Regions from separate parts of the Homo sapiens genome. Here regions 1, 2, 3, 5 and 6 are each linked to region 4. Evidence: promoter capture Hi-C in 16 types of primary human blood cells and fetal thymus (Javierre and others, 2016). All regions are on one chromosome and are shown on one strand. Each heading gives the region's core, a stretch centred on a gene start or on the middle of the fragment in contact. The rest is flanking DNA. Distances are from core to core; before and after follow the strand shown. Region 1 overlaps NECAB1 (N-terminal EF-hand calcium binding protein 1). Region 2 overlaps NECAB1 (N-terminal EF-hand calcium binding protein 1). Region 3 overlaps PIP4P2 (phosphatidylinositol-4,5-bisphosphate 4-phosphatase 2). Region 4 holds the start of OSGIN2 (oxidative stress induced growth inhibitor family member 2). Region 5 has its middle 12 kb from the start of PIP4P2. Region 6 overlaps PIP4P2 (phosphatidylinositol-4,5-bisphosphate 4-phosphatase 2).

Region 1 (4,303 bases), core at 258-2,757, 1.1 Mb before region 4:
TGTGCAGCTATTTATTTATTTATTTATTTATTTATTTATTTATTTATTTATTTATTTTGAGACAGTCTCGTTCTGTCACCCAGGCTGGAGTGCACTGGCACGAACTCAGTTCACTGCAACCTCTGCCTCCCAGGTTCAAGTGAGTCTCCTGCATCAGCCTACCAAGTAGCTGGGATTACAGGTATGCACCACCATGCCTGGCTAATTTTTTGTATTTTTTAGTAAAGAGAGGATTTCACCATATTGGCCACTGGTCTCGATCTCCTGTCCTCAGGTCATCTGCCCACCTTCGCCTCCCAAAGTGCTGGGATTACAGGCGTGAGCCATAGCGCCCAGCTAATTATTTTTATTTTTAATCTTCATAACCATTATAACACAAAATGTACAAAACTGGTTTTTAAAAATAGTGTTAGAAGTTATATGGCCATTAAAACCCATAAATAATATTTATATGCTAGCTTCTGCTTACTGGAATAGGCCTGCTGTCACAGTGATAAAACTTTAAAATAAGGTGGGATGTCCCAATAAATGTCAAAATGTTGTAGGTTTTAAAATTGTGTCAAAAATCAAGCCTAACTTTTCCTCTTGTTCTACGAAATTCCAGTAATCATTGTTGAAATTAAATGTAACATGAAATTAATACAAAATAGGGCAGCAATTAAAAGACATTAAATTGTATTGAGCCTGGATTCACAGAACAAGAATTGATCCAGTTTTATCTGTAGTCAGTTTTTCTTTCTAAATTAGGAAATGCTCTGAGAGAGAAAGAGTAATATATGTGCCAATGACACTAGTAGTGTCTAGAAAATAATTCCAGATAATGATAAAGTTGGGTCAGAAAACTATCAGATTAGTCCACATTTTCAATTCTTGCTATAGCATTTTCCCCCTCACTGATAATTCAGTAGCCTCCTGTTCTATCCTCTTTTCCTACTCTATTTTTGATCAGGTTGTTTCTGTCCTGGAAAGACTCAAGACACTAATAAGAACAAGCTTTGTTCCTTTCTTTCCACATTGGTTTGGGAGAGATGGAAATGGGTGTGATGACAGACACAAAAATTACAAGTGTCAGGACTTCGTGGAAATTTTGACCGAAGACCAATATATTTATGATGATGCCAAAGTCCTATTCATTCCTTCATTTAGGAAATAATTTCTTCTTGCCATATACTGTACTATAGTAATACTGTAATAGGGTAGGGAATGTGAAGATAAATAAAATGTGGATCTCACTTTCCTGCATTCTATGTACAAAGCTTGCAGCAGTCATATTTACAGAAGTTGTATTCTAAGATTTTTCTCCCTATTTTATTTTATTTTATTTTAATTTTATTATTATTGTTTTTTGACATGGAGTCTCGCTCTGTCGCCCAGTCTGGAGTGCAGTGGTGCGATCTTGGCTCACTGCAACCCTCCGCCTCCTGGGTTCAAGCAATTCTCCTGCCTCAGCCTCCTGAGCAGCTAGGATTACAGGCATGCCCCACCATGCCCAGCTACTTTTTGTATTTTTAGTAGAGGTGGGGTTTCACCATGTTGGTCAGGCTGGTTTCGAGCTCCTGGCCTTGTGATCCGCCCACCTCAGCCTCCCAAAGTGCTGGGATTACAGGCGTGAGCCACCGCGCCCAGCCTTCCTCCCATTTATAACATCATAACACTATACATCCCCCACTCATCCCCAGGAGCACTGTATCTTTGCATTTTACTCTTTTGGTTTCCTTGATACTCCACTGCTTAAAGAAAGGCATCTCCCCAAGCTTCTCTTAGATATTTTGTTCTTACCTACATACTTTCTTACCAATCCCAGGCTTCAACAATCATCTTGCTGTGGTTAACTCCTGAAAATTACATCTGCAACTGGAGTCCCAAACTCTGGCTATTTCCTGGTGCAGGTTTTTTTTTTTTTCTTCCCTGGCCTAGATTATTGCCCTAATTGGTTAATCTCTCTCCTCTCCATGACATCCACCTTTCTCCCTCCTGTCAGTTATTACTGATTAGAACATGTCACCATCCCTTTCAAAACTTTAAATTACTCCAGGTTGCTGTTCAAAAGCCTCATTATGACATTCTCAACCTCACTTCTTACTCTCTCGTCTGTCTCCACTTGTACTGTAAGTTTTATGCCTTAGTGACACCTTTGCACCTATAAAGCACATTCACACTTCTTGCATTTGTTCATGTCCAAATTTACCAAAGGACCCTTCCTCTCCATCTTTACTTTTCCACATCTCATCTTTTAAGGACTAGCTCAAGTCATTTTCTTAAAAACTATTAAAGAAGTAATCACTTCTCCAAGTCCACAAAACACATATTATCTCTAATGGTGACAGCTATTTTATTCCCTTAGCTGGGTTTTTTTTTTCTGCTAAAATTTGTCTTTGCAAACGTTTCTGTGAAGCTGGACAGAAAGCACTTTATGGGTAGGGATTTTGCCTTTAGTTTGTACCCTTTGTAGCTCCCAACACAGTGCTTGTTCAGAAATGGAGCTCAATCAGTACCAGTAAATTAGGCTAAACACCCTGATGCCTAGCACATATTAATACTCAGTAAATATATATTTAATCAGTAATTGGATGGGTAGATGAACAAATTGTATCCAGTACACTAAATTACAATATGATAAAATATTTGAATAATTTTTTGAAATATGATTTGGTGGTACTTCAAGTTTGTTAATATGATTAGCAAATGACTAATGGTTCAGTATAGCTGGGAATACAAATAGGGTCAACTAAGGACAAAATAGAACAAATATATAGATCTTTTATTTCTTCCCCCCAATCTCAAATCATAAAATATATAAAGAAATAAATAAGAGAGTACCATTGATAAAATATAGAAGGAAAGAGCATACTATCTTTTACGAAACAAACAAACAAAAATACAAAAGGACACAGAAGCATTGTAAACCCAGGATAATTACCAGGAACTAGCATTGTAGATGTGAGTTCTGGAGTTTCCAAGAAATCCACATTACTTCTTTGGAATGTCTTGCTATAATTTGTCTGAAGGTGGCTGTATAAATAATTATAGGTTAAGGCTGTGCATTTTTATTTACAATCTTCCCAAGTACAGCAGAGATCAAATTTGATCAAGATGGCAAAGTTTGGGATGATTTGGATTAAATAAGCTCCTGGATACAAGCTTCTTTTAATGGTTGTTCAGCTTTCAAAAATGACTCAGGAGTAATTTAATAATTGTCATCAGAAACTTTTTTAAAAAGGTTTTAAACCAGGAGAACATTACTTTTTTAGAGGATAAAAAGTAGATTTTATTGCACCAAATTTAAATATATCTTGTTTAAAAACAAGATAGATAATAAGACAGACTGTATATTTTACATTTCTAGATAATAAAAATAAATCTAAAAAGCTATGTGAAAGTGTTGGCCTGGAAGCAGAGTCGAATAAGTTACCTCGTTTCCTTCTATGGCTGAAATACTGTTGGTGTCATTTTGCCTTCCTTATAGCACAAAGTGCCTTCAAAATTGCCACAAAAATAAAACTTTTAGGTGAAACATGGATCAACTGAATTTCCAGGTATTCTATTACTTCCATCACCATATTTAACACCCTAAACATGGACTTATTTAGAGAGCTGTATTCTCTGTACCATTTTAAACTGTCAGGAATTGTTATATACTCTCAGAAGAGCAAACATTTCTTTCATTCCATTTTAAAATTATATGTTTGTTTGCTATTAGTAATTATTTTAATTTTTAAAGAAGCTGATTTATTTTAATTTTTGACAACGTCTTGAATTTCCACTTTATTTTTAGTGTTTAAAGACATTTAGAAGGTATTGGGCTGCAATGACTCTAAAAATTATATGTAGTTTTATTGTAAAATAAAATAACTGCACAGACTATCCTATGAAAAATTAGGAGGTAAAGCTTTTTTTCCCACCTCACTTTTGTCCATCCTTTTTCTCCACCCCCACCACTACCCTCACCAGCTTTAGACACTCATACCCCCTATCTATATCTTCTTATCTGAAAACATCAGTAAAATGGTAAGACTCAAAGTGGGATCATTACCAAAAGTATTTGTACTTCAAGAGAGAAGTGGTTTCTAAGCTATTAAATACATTTTTTAAAGTGTGTAGAATTCATGGTAATGGGCAAATGGGACAGGTTTTAAGGTAAGGTAAAAGAGAATGGAACTTTCCTACAAATCCTAAAATTACATCATGCATATTGCCACCTTCCTGGCTTCACATAAAATCAGGCTTGCTCACAACTTACCTATTCCATACACTACTATTCTCCCAGAACTCATAGATCATGTAGCGAGATTCATTTGAAAGC
Region 2 (4,777 bases), core at 1,023-3,522, 1.0 Mb before region 4:
AAGGTTATTTCCTACCTTGGTTTCATATAAATGTGTGACCAATCCTTTGACATCTATAAAGTATATAATACATCTAAGGGATTAAAAAATGATTTTTCTCCTAGTTACCCAAGATTTTAAAATCCAAATTTTCACTAAATGTAAATATAAACATCCAACTTCCTGAAACAAAATGTACTATGCATGTTTGCCTCAACATAAAGTAAATAATAAAGCTTGGTATGTACTGCTTTTAATTATTTGCTAACTTCTTTTTGTTGCATCTTAATGTACTTTTTAGGATCCCTTTGTCCATTCTTCTTCTGTTTCCAAAAACTGCTGCCACTCTGGATGGACATCTTGTCCCTAGGGATACAAATGTTCCCTTTTGCATCAATTTATTCTTTGAAAAATTATTTCTGAGCATTTTCAATGTGCCTGGCCCTAGGCTAAATGCTGGAAATATAATAATGAACAGAACCAGGTTTCCGCTCAGGTATATCCAGTGTACAACATAGCAGGATTTACAAAATGTTTATGATACAACTTAAATGTTGCCCTTCTCTGCCAGTCATATTCCTTCAATTATTCAATAACTCATTGATTTATACATGTATAAAATTTTCATTTTGCACCTATTACATGCCAGGTACTTTTGCAAAAACTGTGAAGTAGGTATTAGGTTTACACAAATCACAATGTAGAAACAACACTACTGAATCTTATAAAATGAAATACGACTACTTGGTTTTTCAATTTTTCATTGAGATAACTAATTTTTGAAGAAATTAAATTATGTTTTTAAAGAATATATTTCTAACATTTTTACCTGATAAAAATACTTACAGATTTAGTATTCCCTTCAATAATTTCTTCTTCTGGTGGTTCGAGTTTGAGATCCTTCAATAAGAGGAAGAAATGGCAGAAAAGAAAAAAAATTATATCATTTAAAACAATGCCATATATTCAAATCATAGTTCTCTCATGGCTAACATTGAACCAAAAGAACTTCATTATCTTAAAGATGAAATAATACTGATTTTTTTAAAACTCAGCTGTTCCAATAAAGACTCTTTGTACTTATTTATCAATTGTAAGAAGCTGTTTTAGACGTGTTCAAAGTATTGCTTTAAATTTACTTCTTGAATGCCATTAGAGAGCAAAGTGGAAGAGAAAGGTACATTAAAACAGAGAGGGAAAGGGTAGGAAGGTAAACGAAAGAAAAGGAAACAGAATGACTAAGCCTAACAGTCTGCTTTATTTTGCTATGAATGAGTATTGCCACATTTCTACATTTCTTGGGACATCATTATAAACATTAGTCTATTGTTACAATACATTTATACCCTGGTGTTAATTTTTCTTTATTAAATAGAAAGTGAATTAAAGAGTAAATGAAAATACGATTGACATTTGCTAAAAGTGAAGAACTCCTATAAAGACCGTGAAGTCTTAAAAAAAAGTTTTTTTTTTTATTTCCATAGGTTTTTGGGGAACAGGTGGTATTTGCTTGTACAGGTAAGTTCTTGAGTGGTGATTTGTGAGATGTTGGTGCACCCGTCACCTGAACAGTATACACTGAACCCGATTTGTAGTCTTTTATCCCTCATCTCCCTACCACCCTTTTCTCCTGAGTCCCCAAAGTCTACTGTGTCATTCTTATGCCTTTGCATCCTCATAGCTTAGCTCCCACTTATGAGTGAGAATATAGAATGGTTGGTTGTCCATTCCTGAGTTACTTCACTTGGAATAATAGTCTCCAGTCCCATCCAGGTTGCTACAAATGCCATTAATTCATTCCTTTTTATGGCTGAGTAGTATTCCATCGTACATACACACCATAATTTCTTTATCCACTCATTGATTGGCGGGCATTTGGGTTGGTTCCACATTTTTGCAACTGAAAATTGTGCTGCTATAAACATGTGTGTGCAAGTTCTTTTTTGTATAATGACTTCTTTTCCTCTGGGTAGATACCCAGTAGTGGAATTGCTGGATCAAATGGTAGTTCTACTTCTAGTTCTTTAAGGAATCTCCACACTATTTTCCATAGTGGTTGTACTTGTTTACATTCCCACCAGCAGTGTAGAAGTGTTCCCTGTTCACCACATCCATGCCAACATCTATTATTTTTTAATTTTTTTATTATGGCCTTTCTTGCAGGAGTAAGGTAGTATCACATTGTGGTTTTGATTTACATTTCCCTGATCATTGGTGATGTTGAGCATTTTTTCATAGTTTGTTGGCCCTTTATATATCTTCTTTTGAGAATTAAGACCTTAATGTCTTCTGTGATGACCAATGAATAATGCTAATGTCCTAATGTCCCCAGTGAAACCTAGTGCTTCATCTCTGAGAACTTCATTCTGTGAATGGCTATCCTAGCATTGTTTCCAATGAGGATTATGTAGAATAACTCCTTCAAATAAATAAGAAGTAAACTGAAAACTGTAGAAATCCAGACTATCTGAAATAACATATGCCTGTTAATAATAGAGCTATGTTGCTCTAGCTGTGCTGTTATTTTGTGGTGGAACTTTCGGCAAGGTATTTAACTTCTGTGGGGTTCACTTTTCCTGCTTTGCTGTAAATTCTCTATCCCTAAATCTTTACATAGCTGCCTTCTTCTTGACTTTCACATCTCAACTCGAATATCACCTTATTAGAGAGAACTTCCAGACCACTCATTTGGAGTTTTCAACCCCCTATCTGTATTATATTGCTCTACTTTTTCTTTATAGCACTTTCCATTATTTTATATTATCTTGTTTCATGGATTTGTTGTTTTTTTGGTCTGTCTCTTCAAAGACCAAGGATATTCTTTTCATCACTGCTGTATTTCCACTGCTGGAATAGTACCTGACACACAGTAGGTACTCAATAAATGTAGAATAAATGAATGGCTGAATGAATGCCCTGTCTAAATCATAGCTTTTCTATGAGGGCAAAATTATATGTAATGTATACAGATGTGAATTGAAAACTAAAAAGTACTCCACAGATAGAAACTGTAGCCTAGTAATCTCCTTGACCACTATTTCCCTGACACTAACTAAGGTACAATTTCAGTTCTACCTTTCCTGATCTAAGGTATGAAAAACTTAAAATAAGTTGTATGAGTGTGACATCCTGAATTACATCCTTTCAAATGAGAATGTCCTGTGATCTGATGATACACTAAGGACTTAATGAAGAATGAAGAGCTTTTATTGTTGTCCTTGTTGTTATTTTGTTTAACATTAAAGGTGGGGTTTTTTTTTGTTTTTTATTTTTGTTTATTTTATTTTATTTTATTTTTTTGAGATGGAGTTTTACTCTTTCGCTCAGGCTGGAGTGAAGTGGCACGATCTCGGCTCACTGCCACCTCTCCCTCCGGGGTTCAAGCGATTCTCCTGCCTCAGCCTCCCAAGTAGCTGGGATTACAGGCGCACACCACCACGCCTGGTTAATTTTTGTATTTTTAGTAGAGATGGGGTTTTGCCATGTTGGCCAGGCTGGTCTCGAACTCCTGACCTCAGGTGATCCACTTGCCTCAGCCTCCCAAAGTGCCGGGATTACAGGCGTGAGCCACTGCACCCAGCCATTAAAGGTGTTTTCTACAGGGATCAAGCAAAACACAAGACATAACCTCAGTATATTCCCATAAATTCTCATGGAGGCTGAAATGGATACAAGGAATACCTAAAGAAACCTATTTATAGAAATTGCTAAGTGTTATATTCCCCTACATGCATAGAATAGGGCTTGGTTTCAGTGCAGGAAGAATTTATCTTAAATACTTAATGCAGAGAAAAGATAACATATGTTCCACTGCAGGTACACTTCCTTCTAATGGGAAGATCAAAACTAGTGTTAACAACTACAGGAGACAAGGTACTCAGCAGTGAAATGACGTACTCAGCCACTGTTTGGCAATTGGGTAGTTTTTCTCTAAAAACCTAATCAGCACAGTACAGAATAAGTTGTAGAAGAAAACTGAACTTGCACTGCTTCTCCATTCATTAAGACAGCTCACACTGAGCTCCACACAGCTGGAGCCCCATGCTGAAAACCATCACATTGTACTTTTAGCAAACCTCTTATACACTGTCCTCAAAATGAAACCCTTTTATAGGAAGGGAGGGAGAAAAAAAGTCTAGAAAAAAAAGAAATGTCACATACTTTGATTTAAAGTTAGAAAAAAAGGCATAAGTTTGAGCCATTCCTTTAAAAATAACTATAAAAATTTCAGATACCAAATAAAGACAGTTTTGTCCAAAAATTCAAAACCACTTTAAAAAGAGGTATTTGTATTTTTAAATGAATCTGGACTTATTTAGCAAATGAATCCTTATGTTTTAACAAGCTTTAGTTTGCAAATAGAGGTCCTGGATTTGATCTTCCAATATTGGAAAACTAATTTCCATAGCCACTATTTTTCCTACAAATCTTTTTAGTTTCAGCTCACATATCAATAAAATAAGAAAGGAGGAAAGTTGATTTGCAGCAAGCTAGTAGTTTAAGTATTTGCTCCAGTAAGTGTTCAATATAAATTTAACAAATAAAGGCACCATGGCAGAGGGACAAGAACTCTATAGGGTTGTTTCCCCTTAACTTGGCTCTTGCACAGAATCTCCTTTTCAGAGACCTTACCCATCCTCACGACATGAGGGTTCATCTTTGTGGAAATATGTCTAAATACCTTAACCTGTTGGCCTGACTTCTCTCCTTCTAACATCTAACTAGGTATTTCTGCCTAAGTGTCCCATTGTACCTTGAAATTCATACATCAAAAACACTAGTTCACCTTCTCACCTTA
Region 3 (4,782 bases), core at 1,956-4,455, 1.1 Mb before region 4:
AGAGTATAGATGTACTAGTAAGGAAATGGAATGGATAGGACTGAATGTGAAAGAATGAGAGAGAGAGAGATTGGGATCAAGAATGACCCTATTTCTGAGAGGCTGTAGAACCATTCACTGAGACAGGACATGCAGGATCTAGAAGAAATGTGTCTGGCAGAAGATGATAAATTCATTTTCAACATATTAGATATAGAATAGTAGGTTTGCTAGATTGGTTAATCATCATTCCATCTATCTGCTTTTCAAAGCAGCAATCTTGGATCAATATAGCCATGGCTTCTCCCTTCCTTCACCAAGATAACTGAGAGTTGAAAAAATTCTGTATTCAGTTCTTTACAAATGTATAGATTTGTAATTTATCTAAATTGATCTATATTCCTAAGTGTCCTTGATTGACTTCCCATTTCCCAAAACAGCTATCTCCAGATATCTACTATTCCTCCTAAACCCCCACCTCAGTACCCCCAACTCTCCAGGTCTCATCCAATGAATTGCCTCCTATCTCTGAAATAATTGAGGCTATCTGTGAATTCTCTCATTTTTGTATTTCATACTCGTAAACCTGTCTTTATCCATGCTCACTTCATTTCCTCTTCTCAGAGGGATGCATGTCTCTTCTTTCCAAGGCTTATACCTTCATTTGATTATTGCACCCCATTCTCTTTGGAATAAGGCACAATTAGCTATCCATCCCCAGTGGGCCACTGAATTTGCTCTAATGAAATTCACATCCCAATAATAAATTCCATATTTTGATTCTCATCCTGCTTGTTTTCTCTGTAGCATTTGATACTATTGATCATCCTGGGTGTGCTGATTAATTTTAGGTGTCAACTTGACTGGATTAAGGAATGTCTAAAGAAATGGTAAAGCATTACTTCTGGATATGTGTGAGAGGGTGTTTCTAGAGGAGACAGTGGACTGAATGGAGAAGATCTGCCCTCAATGTGAGTGGACACCATCCAATTCGCTGGGGGCCCAATAGAAAAAAAAAAAGCAGTGGAAAGGCAATTTTCACTCTTCTGGAACTTGGACACTCTTTTCCTGCCCTTGAACATCAGAACTCCAGGCCCTCTGACCTTTGGACTCTGGGACGTACACCAGTGGTCCCTCAGCTCCGCAGACCTTCCTCCTCAGACTGAGAATTACGCCATTGGCTTCCCTGATTCTGAGGCTTTTGGACTTAGACTGAGCCACACTGCCAACAGTCCAGGGACTCTTACAGATCCCCTGTTGCAAGACTTCTCAGCCTCTATAATCACAGTAGCCAATTTCCTTGATAAATTGCCTCTTATCTATTTCATCTATCTATCTATCTATCTATCTATCTATCTATCTATCTATCTATCTATCTATCTATCTATCTCCTGTTGGTTCTGGCTTTCTGGAGAACCCTGACTAATACAATGGTTTCTTTTCCTTAAAGTTTGTTTTCTTGGTTTCCAGATACTGCTTTCTCCTGGGTTTCTCCTACTTCTCACAACTCTTCTTTGTTGGCTTTACTTTCTCTTCCAAGTTGTTAAATTTTGCTATTTTCCAAAGTTGGAACTTGACCGCACTTTATCCGGGTTTTCTCTTATGTTCCTATGTCATTTAGATGCCATTAAATGACCCCAGATATTTCTTTGGAGCTTCAGATTTAAATATACTATCTCTATTCACTATCTAGCCTAGAATTATTTCAACTTGATATCTCATGGTCATTTCAAGCACAACCTGACCCAGCATTCCCACCTTACTCTGCAAACCAATCTCCCATGTGTATTGATAAATATATTATGTTTTTCTTTTTCACCCCCTACATTATTTCTAGAAAAAGAATATATTATTTTAATGAATGTTATCCTGTCTGTCCAACTGACCAACCAAGAAATATTAGTGTATTTTTTATCATTCTCCATATTTAAATGGTAATATCCTATCAATTATGTCCCTTGACATTTTAATTCTGTCCTCTTATTCTCATGATTTCTACTTCAGTTCATGTATTCAGCATCTCTCACCAGGACTATTGCATTGGTTTTCTAATTTATCTCTTGACCTCCAATACTGCAATTATCTATTCATTTACTAGAGTGGTAGTTCCTAAATGCATACGTCATTTTAGATTCTCTGGCATCAAATCTTTTAGTGGCTCCCAATTTCTTAGCCATGGCATACAGTTGTGCAAGTTGTATGCTGCACAACCCGAAGAGGTACAATTTCCATTGTTATTTTAGGTTTGTATATTTAGTTTCATATAAATTATTCTGAGGACTTCTTTTACTTATTGGCATAAATGTACCATATGGTTTACTATCAGCCCATTGCCTAAAATCCAAAATCAAACTCCAAACTTCTTTTAGTCTTTGCCTAACTTTTCTAGGGATATCTTTGTTTTCTTCTGTCTCTACACACACAACCTAGTTATTTCCTAGCCCCAACAAATTGCACTTCTACTTCCACAAACATATTATGCAGTTTCTTTCTTCTGTTCCTGAGTCTTATCCTGCTAGACCTAGAATGGCCTGGCTACTCCTTTCCTTGCCCTTGTCTACCTAGAAAACACCTATTTAACCTAAAAAATTAGCTGAAACATCCCTTGCTTCTACTCTTCATCTGTAGAAACATTCTGTGGCACAAAGGTTATTCTGCTGCTTATTCCTTGAACAAATTTTCTTTTCACACCTGAACAATTCTAATGTAATCAGCTGAAATGACTTACTCCCCCATCTATTCACATTTTAAGCTATCCTTAAGTCTTGTGTAATAAAGCCATCCCTGGCTGCCTTGTCTGAAAATTGTAATGTAAAGAACATTGTTTGCCGCCTTTTCCCCTTATAAATTCCTGTAGCACTAGCTACACTACCATTTTCCAGGTGTTCTTCATAATCCTAGTGTTTCATAAGGTGTTTTTGTGAAGCGAAAGATTAATAATTTGAAGAGTGAATAGTTAGATGTTTGAGAGCATTGAATGGTCTTTTCAGCTTGGAGATTCACTGTCCACATTTTTGTATATGCCCTTGACTTTCACATGCAGTAATATAAAAAACCAATTAGCTGTAAAAATCATCCTTTTAAATGCATAGCTCAGCTCATATGACAGTTGGGGACCAAAAATGAAGATTAAGTGACAACCAGGACTATCCTGAAGGTATATGCCAACACTAGGGATCTACAGCCTTGGAAGAATGAGAGAGAAGGCATTGGCCTCACACAAGGTAGCGGGGTTAGAATACTGCCTCCTCCCAATAAAGTACTTAAAGTACTCTTCCCCTGGAAAAGAGTGAGTTAGGAAAAAGAAATCAACCAGAAAAGGAAGATTGCAGAGGAAAAAATTTATAAGAACAGTGAATTTAGGTTTATATTTTTATATCACTTATGCGATCTAGGAAAACCTAGTTCCAGAAACTGACTTAAAGTTTAGGGTTAGTATCAGTCTAGGGAGCCTGCGAAAAGCAAATGAAAGTTCTGTATGTAGGAAAGCACCCCCAAACTATGCATGCCAAAATTTTTTTATATTGAGATCTGCCAAAATAAGTTTTCAACAAAAGTTACTAGTCATAGGAGAAAACAAGATTCCAGAAGCATAATCAACATTGACAACAAACAGCATAATTAGACCTCTAAAAACTTCAGATTTATAATTATTAAATATGGAGTATGTTAAAACTATGCCTAAGATGTTTTAAAATAAAAATAAGAGAAAACATGTAAGACTATTTAAAAATTACCAGGTACTCACAGAAATGTATATGTGAGTGTTTGTAGCAAATTTGACACATGCAACAGCTTGGATGAATTGAATTTATGCTGAGTAAAAAAAAAAACTTAGCCATACAAGGTTACCTGCAGTAAGATTTCATTTATGTAACATTTTTCAAATGACAAAATTGTAGAAATAGGGAACAGATTAATGATGGTGTGGCAGGCACAGGGTGCGGGATGGGCAGAAAGGAGGGTGTGGTTATAAAAGGATCCTTACAGTGATAGACTGTTCTCTATTTTAGCTGTGGCAATAGATACATGAACCTAAACGTGATAAAATTGCATAAAATTAAAGAAAAATCCATACTCATATACCTGAGAAATCTGAATATTGGTGGATTATATGAATGTTAATATCCTGTTTATAATATTGTATTATAATTTGCAAGATTTACTATGGGGGAAATAGGGCAAAACGTACATGGTATTTTTATGTGTTATTTATTACAACTGCTTGTGAATCTATAATTGTCTCAAATAGAAATTTGCAAAAAATAACCAGATAGATATAGAAAGAAACAATAGAACTTCTAGAAATTATTACAGAAATTAAAATGCACGTACGGTTTAAAGAACAGATCAGCTAAAGGTGAAGACTAAAGTTGTGAATTGGAAGATAGAGGTAAGTGAATTACCCAGAATCTAGCATAGAGAGACAAAGATGAATGTAAGATTAAGAGAAAATATATTATTAAGATGCCAATTATATATCTGATCTGGAAGGAACAAATAAAGAATGGGATATGGCATTTTAGGAGATAATCTCAAATAATTTTCAGATCTATGAAAGATATGAATTTTTATATTCAAAAAGAACAATGAAATCCAAGCAGGATAAGTAAATGTGTTACAGTGAAATTGTAGAAAACCTAAGAGAAATAGAAGGTAATTAAAAGCAGAGAGACAAAAGGCATATTTTCAATAAGAAAAAGATAACAGTTCTGTCAGCAAATGTCTCAACAGCAAAAATAGAAGCCAGAAAACAAGTTTTAAAATACATCAAAAATACTAAGAGAAATTAACTGTCAAACT
Region 4 (4,609 bases), core at 1,648-4,147:
GTATATCACAGGTCTATGAACAGTGTTAATCTCTAGATTTCCAATTTGATATTTGTTCTATTTAAAACAAGAGCTTATTTTGAGTAATAAAAATCTACTTTTTCTTCGAGGCACAAATTAAAATTGGAAAATATGTACAATTACATTTAGCAACTAGTAAAGAACAGCACTTTACATGCAAAATTAGTTACTCTATTGTTAGGAAGCAAGTTAAAAGCCTATTTGACATTTAAGATGCTTTTAGAGGCCTTCCATTTTTTGTTTTTGAAACATTACAGCACAAAGTTTCAGAGAACATTTCAAAGGATAGTGTGGACATAGTATCAGGATAACAAAAAGACTTTTTCCATACCATAGCAGTACTTGTTTAAATGATCATTCAAACTAAAATGAAATGCTTTACTAACTGAATTTTTATAGTCTTTGGAACCATGAACCTAAAATTTACCAAATTTATACTACCACATGGAAAGAAGGTTCTAAAGCCACAAATGAAGTCAGTCACACTCTTCATCTTCCAGAACACGAAGGAAGAGGTTTTTTCCTTTGGAAAGTTAGTGGACAGTTCTCTCACTACTTATCCATTCAGATGTTAGACAATAGATGTCACAACCTGTTTTATAATCTGTGTTTTTTTGTGTGTTTTTTGTTTTTTTGAGACAGTCTCACTCTGTCGCCCAGCTGGAATGCAGTGGTGCGATCTCAGGTCACTGCAACGTGTCTCCTGGGTTCAAGCTATTCTCCTGCCTCAACCTCCCGAGTAGCTGGGATTACAGGTGCACACCACCCTGCCCGGCTAATTTTTGAGTTTTTAGTAGAGACGGGGTTTCACCATGTTGGCCAGGATGACCTGAACTGACCTGAAACTGCTCGAGAAATAGCACTGGTAAATCAGAAACATATTCCTGAAGGAGCTGGTAAACAACTAAAAAAAAAAATACTTTAGACACAACAGAACTGTTTTTGCAATAAAAAGTGTGGTTTATTAATCATAATGTTTATCTTTGGCAGCTAGCTTGTTTTTCTTTCTGTCCCTCCAGACCAAAACATAGCAAATACTTTGTTTTCACTCCCTACTCCAAATTTCTGTGCACGGCAGGAAGCAAATGGTATTCAACACCCAGTATTAGTCAAAAGAATATGAATCCTACACTGTGCATCAAAAGGTGTCAAATAGCTTTCACACAATATTTTCTGAAAGGCATGTTAGATTCTCATGGGCTTTATTTAGTTTAACAAGTTTCACTAGGGGAACCTATTTCCTAAAAGTTTCCATAGTGAATCTGATACCTTCAAACCGCTGTCTCAGTAGTCAACAAATTTGCCTAAAAGTTAAAATCAAGCAGTTTATTATATGAAACAATTTTTCCTTAATATCCACAACCTAGAGACTCATTCTAAACTCACTGAGAGGTTAGACAAGCTTGGATTATCGCTGTTACAAAAGAAGTTCCAAACTTTCTCTATGCCTTACATCTCTTTTACTATAGGATGACGCTTCTTAACCTCTTCTCTGAATACTGTTCTTAAATATACACAGGATTTACAAGAAAACTAATTCTATTAAAACAGTCATAAAAAGTAAACGCGATATATATATGTGCTTCTCTGTTGCATTCAATAAATTCAGTGATGTGTTACTATAATTTTGAATAAGTATAAACAGTATTTCTATATTAACTGCAATGTGATATAAACATATTTTATGATCTCTACTGATGACAGTCACAGATACTACTGTGATTTGTTGCTTATATTTTAACTGAATATTAGTTTTTAAAATTTAGTGAAATGATATACCTTTCTTTCCATCCAAGTTCATGGGTTACCTAAATTGTATGAAACCCACTATTTAGGAAGGCTTGATCAAAATTTCATATTTTACCAGGGAAGAAGTCTTACATAGAATTATTCTGGAACATCAGTATATGTAAAGCAAGGTACTAAAGTATTCCCTATGCTTAACCATTCTTCACCCCAGGGTTAAAATCAGTTTCTAGTGTCTGGTCTTTCCACCAATGACTGAGGTGTTGACCAAATGTGCTAGATCTAGAAAACATACTTTTATTTTAGAAATGTATTATATTTTATCACCCCTAAAACCTTTCCCCATAAGGTGATTGTAAAACCGCCTCATTCTTTAAATTTCTACAACACACACGTCTTACCATGGCTAACATCTTAACAAGGCAGAATCTATTTGTGATTAGATGACACTGAAATGTAGTTCCCTACCTTCCTTCCACTCATTACATTATTTAGAAGACTTTTTAAGAAATAATTTTTTTTTAGGGAGGCAGGCACTTCGTAGAACCCCCTTCACTAAAACTTTGCACTACTGGGAAGTCTCAGCTCGCCGTAACCGACTCAGTCCGGCCTAGCCGATCCCGCAGTCCCGTGACCCGCGCGGTCCAGAGCGAGAAAAGGGAACAGCGCAGGGCTCCCCGGAGCAAGGACCCCACCACACCGCACCCCACCCCACCCCCACGCCAGGCAGGACGGCCGAGGCGGGAGGACGCTGCGGTCCAGGCGCTCGCCCTCCACCCCGGTCCCGGCCCGGGCCAGGCCAAAAAGCTCGAGAGCGCGGCATCCCCGCCTGCTCCCCTCCCATCCCCGGCGAGGAAGTCACCTGAAATGACCGGCCAGGGAGCAGCGGCAGCACCACACGGGCATGGAGCGCTGCGCGAGGGGCGCCCGAGCGCGGCCGCCGTGGCCGCCTCCGCCTCCCCCGGCGAGGCTGCCCGCTCGGGGCGCCCGCTGGCTCGGGGTCGCGGGGTCTGCCGGGCGCCCCTGCCTCGCGCCTCGCCGTTGCCGCGGCTGCCCCGGCTCTGTGGCGCCGGAGTCCGCCTCCAGATAGCGGCTTCCGCTCCTCGCCTGCAGGGAGCCAGGCGCCGGAGGCGGGTGATCTCGGGGCGCCGCGATAGGGGCGGAGCGGGGCGGGGACGCTGCGACGGCGGCTGCAGCGGCGCGCGGGCCCCTCCTCGCAGGTGCGGCTGCGGCGGGCGAAGTCTGCGATTGGTGGAGCCACGGCCCGGGCGAGGGGCCGGGCCTGATGGAGCCGAGGCTGCGCGGGCAGGGGACCGAGGTCTGCAGGCAAACTGCGCGGCTCGACCGGCGGCAATCGAGACCTAGACCTCGGTCAGCGCCCCGCCGCCCCTCTGCGTGCGACTTGGTGAGGCCGGTGGGTGCGCGTCGAGAGGGCCGAGGGACGAGCGGAAGAGAAGCTGCTGCGAACTCGGGCCACCCAGATGGCCCGGCGGAGTTCCCTGCGTAAGGCGCGGCCTCGGCCACTTCGCCGAGGACCCCGGGAAGGGTCGAGCTTCCCACGCCTGAGAACCCACCTTTGGGCATTTCCTCGCGCTGCCGGGGTGCAGACGCCGGGAGCTTCCGGGTGCCTCTCCCGCTGACCCCCGCATCACAGTTACCTGGAGGACTCACCAAACCACAGGTGCCCGGGACCCGCCCACCACGCTTCTTTTATGGAAGTCCCGCTTCCGGGAAGAGGTCATCCTCCCCTCTTCATGTCTCTCAAACACCCACAAGTGTAGGAATTACCAGCACGCCGGGTGAAAATCCAGGTGCTCATCAGGCCCGCCCCAGACCACACCGGCCAGTGTGGGGAAGGGCAGGAACCCCTGCTGCTTTTTAAGCCCCTGCGGGCGTTTGTGATGCAATAGGGAGTTAGAAAAGTACTCAATAGTGAGTGTCGTTATTCGGTTTGTCAAAAATTAAAGGTGGGGAGGACAAAAATCAGGAGAGATTGATTGCATCTACTTTTCTACGGAAATGTCTAACTCCGCTTCCAAAAAAAGCCGTAATTATTTTTGTGCTTCAAATATACGTTTATGTTTATATCTTTCAACATAATTTTGTAAAACAAATGTTAAGTTTTACTGAATGTTGTCACTGAACAAACTTGTGATGAGCAGGTATTTTAGAGTCTTGGGGTCTTAAAAGAAAATCATAGGACTCAGACTGCCCCAGAGTTATGCAATCTAAGAGTATATTAACCACTTTTAAGTATTATATGTTTTTCTCTTTTTTGAGCTTTTGTCGATTTGACACGTTCATTTCATTTGAATGTTGGTTCTGAAAATGAAGCATGTAGTTACTTTTCCGTTAACATACATAACAGCATTTTAAAGTACCTAAATTCCTTTTGGAAGGCCGAGGCGGACGGATCACCTGAGGTCAGAAGTTCCAGACCAGCCTGACCAACATGGTGAAACCCGTTTCTACTAAAAATACAAAACCTAGCCCCGGGCGTGGTGGCACGCGCCTGTAATCCCAGCTACTCAAGAGCCTGATGCAGGAGAATCGCTTGAAACCGGGAGGCGGAGGTTGCAGTGAGCTGAGATCGCGCCACTGCACTCAGCCTGGGCCAAAGAGTGAGACTCCGTATCAAAAAATAATAATAAAGTACCTGGCCGGGCGCGGTGGCTCACGCTTGTTATCCCAGCACTTTGGGAGGCCGAGACGGGCAGATCACGAGGTCAGGAGATCGAGACCATGGTGAATGGCGTGAACCCGGGAGGCGGAGCTTGCAGTGAGCTAAGATCGCGCCACTGCACTCCAGCCTGGGCGACAGAGCGAGACTCCGTCTCAAAAA
Region 5 (4,307 bases), core at 1,122-3,621, 1.2 Mb before region 4:
GACCTAGTAGGTGTACGCATGTTCTCACTCATAGGTGGGAATTGAACAATAAGAACACATGGACACATGTGTGCCGCCCACCCCGGCCTTCCAAGGTGCTGGGATTACTGGCGTGAGCCATTGCGCTTGGCTTAATCTTTTAAGTTTTTTGTCTTCTATGTTGTCTGGGCTGGTCTCAAACCTCTGGCCTCAAGTGGTCCTCCCACCTTGGCCTCCCAAAGTACTGGGATTACAGGCATGAGCCCTCATGCCTGGCCTATATTTTACTTTCTTCTAAAATTTTAAAGCTTTATATTAACCAACTCATATTAACTAAGCAAAAAATTAAGAAGAGTTGAGATTTTTCTCTGAGAAAATATATGCACTGAATAGTTCATGACTAGACTAAATTTAAGAGTCATAGAAAAACCATGGAAGGGGCTTGCCTTTGTGTTATTGTGTCGATATATCCTTCTGTGGTAAGTAGAATAAAGGCCTACCAAAGATGTCCACATTCTAAACCCCAGAACCTGTGAATATGCTACCTTACATAGTGTCTTAGTTCATTTGTGCTGCTATAACAAAATATTTGTGACCGTGTTATTTACAAACAAATTTATTTCTCACAGTTTTGGATGCTGTAAAGTCCAAGATCAAGGTGCCAGCCAAATCGGTGCCCAGTGAGGGTCATTCTCTGCTTGCAAGATAGCGCCCTGTTACAGCATCCTCTGAAGGGAATGGATGCTATGTCCTTATGTGGCAGATGGAACCAAAGGGCAAAAAAGGGATGAACCCACTCTCTCTAACCCTTTTATAAGGGCCCTAATCCCATTCATGAGGACTCTGCCCCCATGACTGAGTCACCTCTGAAATACCATCACATTGGTGATTAAATTTTAGCATATGAATTTTGGGGGACACATTCAAACCACAGCATGTGGCAAAAGGGACTTTGCAGATGAGATTAAGTTAAAGATACTGAGATGAAAAGGTTTTCTTGGATTATCCATGTAAATAATCACAAGGGTCCTTATAAGTGAAATGAGAAAGCAAGAGAGTCAGAGTCAGAGATTTGAAGATGCTTCATTGTTGGCTTTGAAGATGGAGGAGGGAGTCAGCCAGGAGGTAAGGAATGCTAATGGTCTCTTGAGGCCAGAAAAAGTAAGAAAATGGATTCCCCACTAGATATCCCACAAAGGAATGCAGAATTCCTGACTGCTTGATTTTAACCCAGTGACCAAGGTTAACCATTTTGGACTTCTGACCTTCAGAATTATAAGACAAATTTGCATTGTTTTAAGACACTAAGTTTGTGGGTAAGTCGTTATGGCAGCCATCGGCAACTACTACATCTTCCTAATGTATATAATACATATATATATATATATATATATGTAATTGGTAAATTAAAATCCCCACCCATTATGCAGGCCACTGTTAGAGACAGCTGAGTAGGATCAGTTTAGCTAGTCTGACTAGTTAGTGTTGACTAATGTGGCTAGGGTGATCGGTGAGATCAGTGAGAATATGTGACAAGTGAGGCTGGTAACAAACTGTCCAGGCAAACAAGGCGGTATCCCTCAGAAAGACTGAGTGACATGAGGCATATCAAGTGTCAGATGACCAAAGAGGGAGAGCGGCCTTCAGCGTGAATGTTCAATAGGTGTGAGAGGAACCAAGTGGGAAACAACACTCTACCCACACTTTCACTAAAGGTGAAAGAACAATGAGTAGAATGGCACACATCTGAATGCCATTTAATTTAAGAGTATCATGTACTCTGGGCTTAACATGAAGCAAGAAAGAATGAGGACAGGAATTCTATCAGAAAAGAAGACAGTTTGACATTTCATGGGCTGTAAATCACAGAGAATCTAAAGAAAGATTATATACAGAGACACCACATAGACAGTAAGAATGTTTTAAACACAGCAAACATTGAAAGAGAAACTACAAACTAGGAAAAAATATTCGCCTTATTTATTACAGGTTTATAACTTTCAAAAGTTGTCTGAGACTGCAGGTGTTGGGCACTTCATACAGGGTGTTGCAGCAGGGAGAATATCCAAAGAGAGTATTTTCTGGAAAACAGGAAACAAAGAGGCTTTCTATGACAAATTAACAATGTTGCCAGTTTGTCTGCTTTGGTCAGAAGGTATTGCAATCCTTTAGACAAGAGGTATCTGTGAGAGAGAACATGAGAGTGAGAGTCAGAGTGATTTGACCTGTTTGACTCCATTACCTTCTGTTCTTGGAACTGTTCGCTTAAAGAAGGAAGTAAAAGGAGTGGGTCAGTCTCTCAGTACCAGGAAACATAGATCAGTGTCCAGTCAAAGAAGAAAGTTTTACATTTCTCCATGGAGCAAAAGGTCCACATATTTAATTAATGAAGGTAAAGAAATTCTTACAATTCTTTCTATATATTTCTTTAATAGTTAGGAAATACACCTGCTGCTGTAATTGATAAACCCTGAAATCTCAGTGACTTAACACAATAAAGTATATTTCTTACAACACTTCAAAACCGGTGTTCTTAGTGGGCAACTCTCCTATAAGTAGTGATTTAGTTTGCCAAGATCCTCCCTTCTTGTGCCATTTTCACCATGTGACTCCTGTGGGCTCCTTTGGGGTTCTTTCTTTCCACTTAGCTTTGAGTAGAAAAGAGTGTGGAGGATCATACAAGGAAGGTTTTCATGGCCTACATGGTCTACAAGTAGTCTACATCACTTCCACTGATGTTCCACTACCCAGAATTTGGACATATGACTACCCCTAAGTGCAAGAATGGCTGAGAAATGTAGCTTATCTGGGTTTCCAGGAGGAAAAGAGAATGGATTTTATAAATAAGTAAGTAAAATTTTAAATAAGAATTATAATTAAAAATATTAAATGATAAATAGATGAACTCCCTAGTGGAAAAAAAATGGCCAATACCATTGACCAATAAAAATATTAAATATTCAGAATCATTAAGGATAAAACTAAGATACAAAAACATATTTCCCTATTAAACTGTCAATATTAAAAATAATGATAATACCATGTTATTTTCCTATGCTGCTGAGAAATAGTCTCAGACGCTGTTTCAAAAAAAAATGTGTAAAAATGTTTTTTCAGGTTTCAGAGGACAATTTGACAGTATATATCTGAAAGACTTTTAAATGGGTATAGTCTTTGATCTAGGCTTCCAATTCAAAAAAATTATCAAGAATAAATAATCAGAAAAGTATTCAAAGATTTCTGTCTTTCATATTCTACATCACATCGATGAGCAAATCATGTTAGATCTAGCTTCATAATATGTCCAGAATCTGATCCCTCTTTCAACCTCCACTCCTTTGTTACCTATAATCCGATTTTCACATAGTAGTCATTGTAATCCTTTTAAAACTTATGTCAAATAAGGTCACTCTTCAAAAGCCTTTAAGAGCTCTATAGTTTTCTCATCTCAGAGGAAAAGCCCAACTGGCCCCATGTGATCTACCCCATCGCAGTCCATGACAAACTTCTCTGGTCTAATATCTACTTTCTACCCCTTCTCTCCTTGCTCCCTTTCATCGGGCTACACAGACTTCATTGCTGTTCCTACACGAACCAAGCATGCTTCCTCTTCAGGGCTTTGCTGTTGACCGTCCACATTTCTGCTTCACTGTCTGTGAAGCTGATCCTATTCCCTCCATGTAAAAAGCAATGTGCTCCCTCCACCCACCTTTCCTATTTCCTTCAATAATATTTATCTCCATCTGATATACATCCTTGGTAAATTGAATTTTGCTTATCTTCCTGTGTTGTGATGTCAGGAATTTTGTGTCCCTTAAAATAGTGCCAGGCACCTAGAAGGTGCTCAGTAAACATTTGCCAAATGAATGAATAGTAAAATATTATAAAAATTCTGAAACATTGAAAAATAGGAGACTGGTTAAATAAACTGGGATGGTTGACTTAAAGGCCATACAGTCAGACAAGATGGAATCAAAAGCATAAAATAAATGAGAATGTGATTCTGTATCTCACTGGAGGAAGTGCTGGAAATACCAATTTCCAAACAGATAATAGTTACGTTTCTTACCCAATTGGTTTCTGAAACCATCGGAAAGGGAAGTTTCTCATCCTAAAGTTACTTTTACATGTATCAACTAATTCTATGGTCTCAAATAGATTTCTCTGTGAAGTAAGTGTGTGTGTGTGTGTGTGTGTGTGTGTGTGTGTGTCCAAGGGCTAAATGGATTTTTTTTAAAGTAATCTTATTATTTGCAGATTACATTGGTCATTGGTCAGCTAGGGCTGCTACAAAATAATACCACAGACTGCATAGTTTAAAGATCAGA
Region 6 (4,511 bases), core at 1,375-3,874, 1.1 Mb before region 4:
GTCATTTTCAGTTTTGATATAACATCTTTGTCAAGAGCCTGAAGGGCTGCATATAGAGGATGCTAATGTAGTAAGTGAATTAAACTGCCAAATATTGTCATTGAGGAGACGTATAAAGGAATAATTGAGATAATAAAGGTCAGAGCAATCCAACAAAACAATTTAAATCTTTAAAATACTGGAGGATATATCTGAGAAAAGATGAAATATGGATTAATACACCAGGATGAATTAGCAAGACAGAGGGGCTGTTTGGCATAAAATAGATAAATTAGGTAAATGTGATGAGAAATGTAATCTGATCACTTGTGGGTTTACAGGATATAATGCTTCCTTTTGAGTGTTTTAGAAAGATCATTATGTATGCCTTGTGATCCATAAACTATCATTCTCTCCCTTTTATGAGTCCGTTTTTCTCTGAAGTTTTTACTGTGAAATGATTCTTCTTTTTAAAATATATTCTAATTCCCCCCCACCCCGATTCTTCCTTCTCCTCTTCCTCTTAATTCTCTTTAACCAAGATTTCATTCTCCAGAAATCTACATTATCAGATGTTTGCTTGTTCCTAGAAAAATCCCCCCATTGGTCCTTAAATATTTTCCCTGTATTAAGTCATTATTTATTAAAGGAGACAGCTGTTATTGTGGAGCGATCTCCAGAACAGGAGTCAGCTCTTGGCTTTGCTGAAGTTGTGTATAACCCTTAAAAAGTCAGAATTTCTGGGTTTGTTTTCTCCTTTGTAAAATAAAGAAATTAGACTTCATAATTCCAAAGATTGTTTGAATTTCTAACATTGTTCTATTCTGGAGCTTTGAGGGAGTTTTTTTTTAGGATTAAGGACTACTGGCCTAACAAATACTGCTCACATGGAGGAAAAAAGCTTTTTAATTTAGAAAAACCCCATGGAGAAAAATGACCATTGTTTAGATAACAAGTAAGACTTTTCCAAAATGAGGAATTTTTGTGACTTTCAACATCTAATGATCCTAAGTTCTGAGATTACAGTGGACTTTTTAAATGTAGTGCAGAAATTTAAAATAGGTAGGATACTGGTGATCGGTTGTTTTAAAGTGAAAATATAGGCATGGTGGTGCATGCCTGTATTCCCAGCTACCGAGGAAGCTGAGGTGAGAAGATCACTTAAGCCCAGGAGTTCAAGACTGTATTGAGCTATGATTATGCCAAAGTGAAAAGAGACAAAATGAATAAATCTAAGTTAATTTAATTATTATAGGTTTAATCTATAATAATCCAATTATTAATCATTTAAATTAATAATCTTATTCTAATTATTGTAGGTTTACTAACTGTGGAATCTCCAGAATTACAAGTCCCATATAAGAGGAGATGGAGCTACAAGTAAATGTTTCCTTGAGGTAAAATCTGAGAGAAAGGGAAAGGCCAAAAGTACAAGAAATAATCTGTCTAAATCAGTTTAAGGCTGAAGTAATGGATAGAACATTGAAATGAAAGGCCAGGAAGCACTGTTTATTGTGGCAATTAGGCTGCAGCATCTGTCATTCTATTGATCTCTTGGATTGATTCCATTTATCTGGTGGGCCAGGCCAGTGTCCCCTGACTACTTCACCTCTCTCAGTGCATTATTTGGAGAGAGTTGTCTTCTATATAAAAGAAGCCCTTGTTTTCCATCAAGCTGCACTCCCCTGCTAGAACCTTAGCTCCTCTGCAAGGAGAGTAGGGTTAATGTATTAGGTTGGTGCAAAAGTAATTGCGGTTTTTGCTATTTGAAAGTCGTAGCAAAAACCGCAGTTACTTTTGCAGCAACCTAATACTTGGTGTTATTTTTCCAAGACAAATAGATATGTCTAATAAATTTTAGTGACTCGCTGATTTATTAATTAATTCAACCATTGAATAAACATTTAGTAAGCATCATCATAGACCAGGCATTATGACAAGCGCTGGTGAAGTAGCTGTGGACAAACCAGATGTGCCCCTGGCCTCGTGGAGCTTATGGTCTCTCTTATATTAGATTTATAATCTTCACTGCTTGTTCTGTCCATGTCCCTCCACTTCCCAAGCCTCCAAAAGAGTAGATTTGAGCATATTTCTGTCATTGAAGGCGTTTTTTTTTTGGCAGATTAAAAATTATATAGTACAAATCTTAGAAGAAAAATTCACAGGGTTTTACTGGCTCTAATGCCCTTTTAATGATTGTTAAGATCACCCTCTGAAATTTTCTTAGGAGATTTCTTTGAGCAAAGCTGAGGAGTGTATGGGTTGGTGTCCTTTTATGTAGTGTAGCAATATGTCACTTCCTCCTCTCCCCCTAATGCCCTTGTTTTCTTTATAAAACTGTCTTGCATTTAAGTTTCCTTTCTATCATACTGTGTAAGATAGAGACCTGGGATTACGAGAGAACTATGTAATGTTACTGTACAACTCAAGGAAAAGGCCAGAGAGGAAGCAACTTTTGTTAATAATGCTACTGCAAATAATTATTAAAATAATATTCATTATCATATACCAGGCAGTGTGTCTTGAATTTCTAGTGAGGTACATATTCTTTCCCCAAGAATAATGTCTTTATTGAGATCTGACAAAGTAATCTGCAAATTGCAAGACCTTAAGTATATTGTTGACTCATTGTTTCTTTAACATGTTTTTTTCTTCTTGATTAATACATTACAGGTCACTCTGGATCACGCTCAAATTCTTTTCATGGATTTAAAATTATTTTTATAATTTAAGACATGTACAGCTTCTTTTGAATTTCAGTGTTTGGCAGTGTTCTGTTATAAGCCTCCCAGAAACATAAGCATATCGTCATTTCAAAGTGGCCTCTTTCAGAGCCTTGGCTGCTGCAGAAATTTGTCTTATGAATCATTTGAACGAATACCACTTGTTGCTAATCCTTAGCAGTCTGAAAAAAATCCTATATTATAACCCAAGGATCAGGTAGAAATATGTGTATTTTAAACATACCAAAATGTTTTATGCTCTAATTCTTTTTAAAATATCACAAAGTTTAGGACCTAATACAGTGGATAGAAAACCTTTATTTCAAAAATAGCTCTTATTATGCTTAGCTATTGTGATTATATTTTATAGTGTTACAGAAGCCTCTTGAGATACCAGTTCTCTTTCGTGCTTCAATCATATGTTAGAGTGTGGCCCTTTCTAAATGTCCCAAGACAAAACTTTACCTTGGAAAAGTCTTCTATTCCTGTAGTTGAGATAGTTACAGAAAGGGGTTAGGCAGTCTCCTTTAGAAATCCCATTCCAGAGTAGTATATCAGGATTCCTTTTCTCAGACTTTTGTAACAAATATACACTTCTGGTAGATACTTGATTTTGAAAGTGGGCCTCCACCCTTCACTCACTCACTGAGTCAACCTTAGGACTCTCAAAAAAAACACTGTGTGTGTGTCTTTGTATTATGGGAATTTTCAAACATACACAAAAGTAGTGTGAAACTATGACCTTCCATGTCATTATATTCATCAGTTATCAACATTTTGCTACTTGTTTCATCTGGTTCCCCATTCTTTTTGTGGTGGTTGTTGTTATGGTTTTTGAAGTTTTTAATCCCACATACTACATTTTTTTACTCATAAACACTTTGGTGCATTTCTTACATTTTTAATGGTAGGTAAATTTTGAGACTAAAAATTGTTATATTTACTTTATTTTTGTTTTGTGTCTGAAATTAGCATGGTTCCCATTTTTGTTCCATGCTGAGAAGTTTAGTTTTCTTAGGTTCATTTTTGTTTCTTCTTGACTTCCTCCAACACCTTGTTTTATTCTTGTCATAGCCAGCAGTCATTATACTGGTTCCAATATAAAGACAGAGCATGACAGCTACATAATTTATATGTATGGATAAGCAATTTTAAAACTTTGCTTTCATCGACCATTTTTATTTCCTGGGAATCAGATCACTTGTGTAAAATTTTTATTGTAGGCATAAATTACCACTCTCCTGTTAGAGACTGTATGAATTTACTAATAGGAATGGAGTGACATTTTGAGTATAGATTAGTAAAAGGAAACTGGGTTATTGGGATAGACCTAGGCAAACATGATTTAGATTTTATCAGAGTTAAGAATTATTTTACTTGATAAGAGTCTCATGGATGTTTGTGCTCTAAAAGTAAGATAAATTGGCTAGCTTTGAAAAATAAATAAAAGAACGTGGGAAAATCTTGATTGTTTCTTCTTTACTTATATTGCCTCTATACTCAAACCAGCCATAGTAATTTCTCCAAGACTCTGATTCAGTGACTAATATCTTTTCAGCGGAGCTCCCACCTCCATATACAGCCATTGCCAGTCCAGACGCCAGTGGTATTCCAGTAATAAACTGCCGTGTGTGCCAATCACTAATCAATTTGGATGGCAAGCTTCACCAGCATGTGGTTAAGTGCACAGTTTGCAATGAAGCTACGGTAAGTGGAGATTTCCATTAGAAAAAATATAAATTGTTATTTGACATTTTATTCCTAAAGGAAGTACTTCAATAATGTTACTTAAAAGTATATGTGGGCTGG

The links. Contacts are between HindIII fragments. The CHiCAGO score rates a contact against its expected background, and 5 or more counts as called.
Region 1: a fragment that was not itself captured here is called in contact with the fragment with the promoter of OSGIN2 in region 4 in 1 of 17 cell types (naive CD8 T cells); the score reaches 6.4 in naive CD8 T cells.
Region 2: a contact is called between a fragment that was not itself captured here and the fragment with the promoter of OSGIN2 in region 4, in 1 of 17 cell types (total B cells). The highest score is 5.4, in total B cells.
Region 3: a contact is called between a fragment that was not itself captured here and the fragment with the promoter of OSGIN2 in region 4, in 2 of 17 cell types (neutrophils and monocytes). The highest score is 8.2, in neutrophils.
Region 5: a fragment that was not itself captured here is called in contact with the fragment with the promoter of OSGIN2 in region 4 in 7 of 17 cell types (M0 macrophages, non-activated CD4 T cells, neutrophils and 4 more); the score reaches 10.4 in M0 macrophages.
Region 6: a fragment that was not itself captured here is called in contact with the fragment with the promoter of OSGIN2 in region 4 in 2 of 17 cell types (neutrophils and non-activated CD4 T cells); the score reaches 7.4 in neutrophils.

What each region holds. Positions count from the first base shown.
Region 1 is chr8:90,949,822-90,954,124 of GRCh38, reverse strand. It overlaps NECAB1 (N-terminal EF-hand calcium binding protein 1), which reads right to left. Exons shown (of 13, transcript NM_022351.5): 11 at 4,241-4,303; 12 at 2,921-3,012. It overlaps LOC105375634 (a long non-coding RNA gene), which reads left to right and starts at 3,008. Exons shown (of 3, transcript XR_928396.3): 1 at 3,008-4,303. The HindIII fragment of the contact is 498 bases long and covers 1,259-1,756 here.
Region 2 is chr8:90,930,406-90,935,182 of GRCh38, reverse strand. It overlaps NECAB1 (N-terminal EF-hand calcium binding protein 1), which reads right to left. Exons shown (of 13, transcript NM_022351.5): 9 at 826-879. The region is part of intron 1 of LOC105375634 (a long non-coding RNA gene); the gene reads left to right. Among named protein-coding and RNA genes, the nearest start is that of C8orf88, 52 kb to the left of the region's middle. The HindIII fragment of the contact is 4,109 bases long and covers 218-4,326 here.
Region 3 is chr8:91,000,536-91,005,317 of GRCh38, reverse strand. The region is part of intron 5 of PIP4P2 (phosphatidylinositol-4,5-bisphosphate 4-phosphatase 2); the gene reads left to right. Among named protein-coding and RNA genes, the nearest start is that of C8orf88, 18 kb to the right of the region's middle. The HindIII fragment of the contact is 7,791 bases long and covers 1-4,782 here.
Region 4 is chr8:89,900,858-89,905,466 of GRCh38, reverse strand. OSGIN2 (oxidative stress induced growth inhibitor family member 2) reads right to left here and starts at 2,897. Exons shown (of 6, transcript NM_001126111.3): 1 at 2,630-2,897. The coding sequence starts at 2,673. It overlaps LOC124901974 (a long non-coding RNA gene), which reads left to right and starts at 3,061. Exons shown (of 2, transcript XR_007061001.1): 1 at 3,061-3,448. RefSeq lists silencers at 1,273-1,332, 2,326-2,775, 2,806-3,145, 2,895-3,193 and enhancers at 3,487-4,252, 4,253-4,609. The HindIII fragment of the contact is 4,461 bases long and covers 1,426-4,609 here.
Region 5 is chr8:91,051,043-91,055,349 of GRCh38, reverse strand. No RefSeq gene overlaps it. Among named protein-coding and RNA genes, the nearest start is that of PIP4P2, 12 kb to the right of the region's middle. The HindIII fragment of the contact is 4,163 bases long and covers 290-4,307 here.
Region 6 is chr8:91,021,154-91,025,664 of GRCh38, reverse strand. It overlaps PIP4P2 (phosphatidylinositol-4,5-bisphosphate 4-phosphatase 2), which reads left to right. Exons shown (of 7, transcript NM_018710.3): 2 at 4,261-4,409. Among named protein-coding and RNA genes, the nearest start is that of PIP4P2, 17 kb to the left of the region's middle. The HindIII fragment of the contact is 3,484 bases long and covers 883-4,366 here.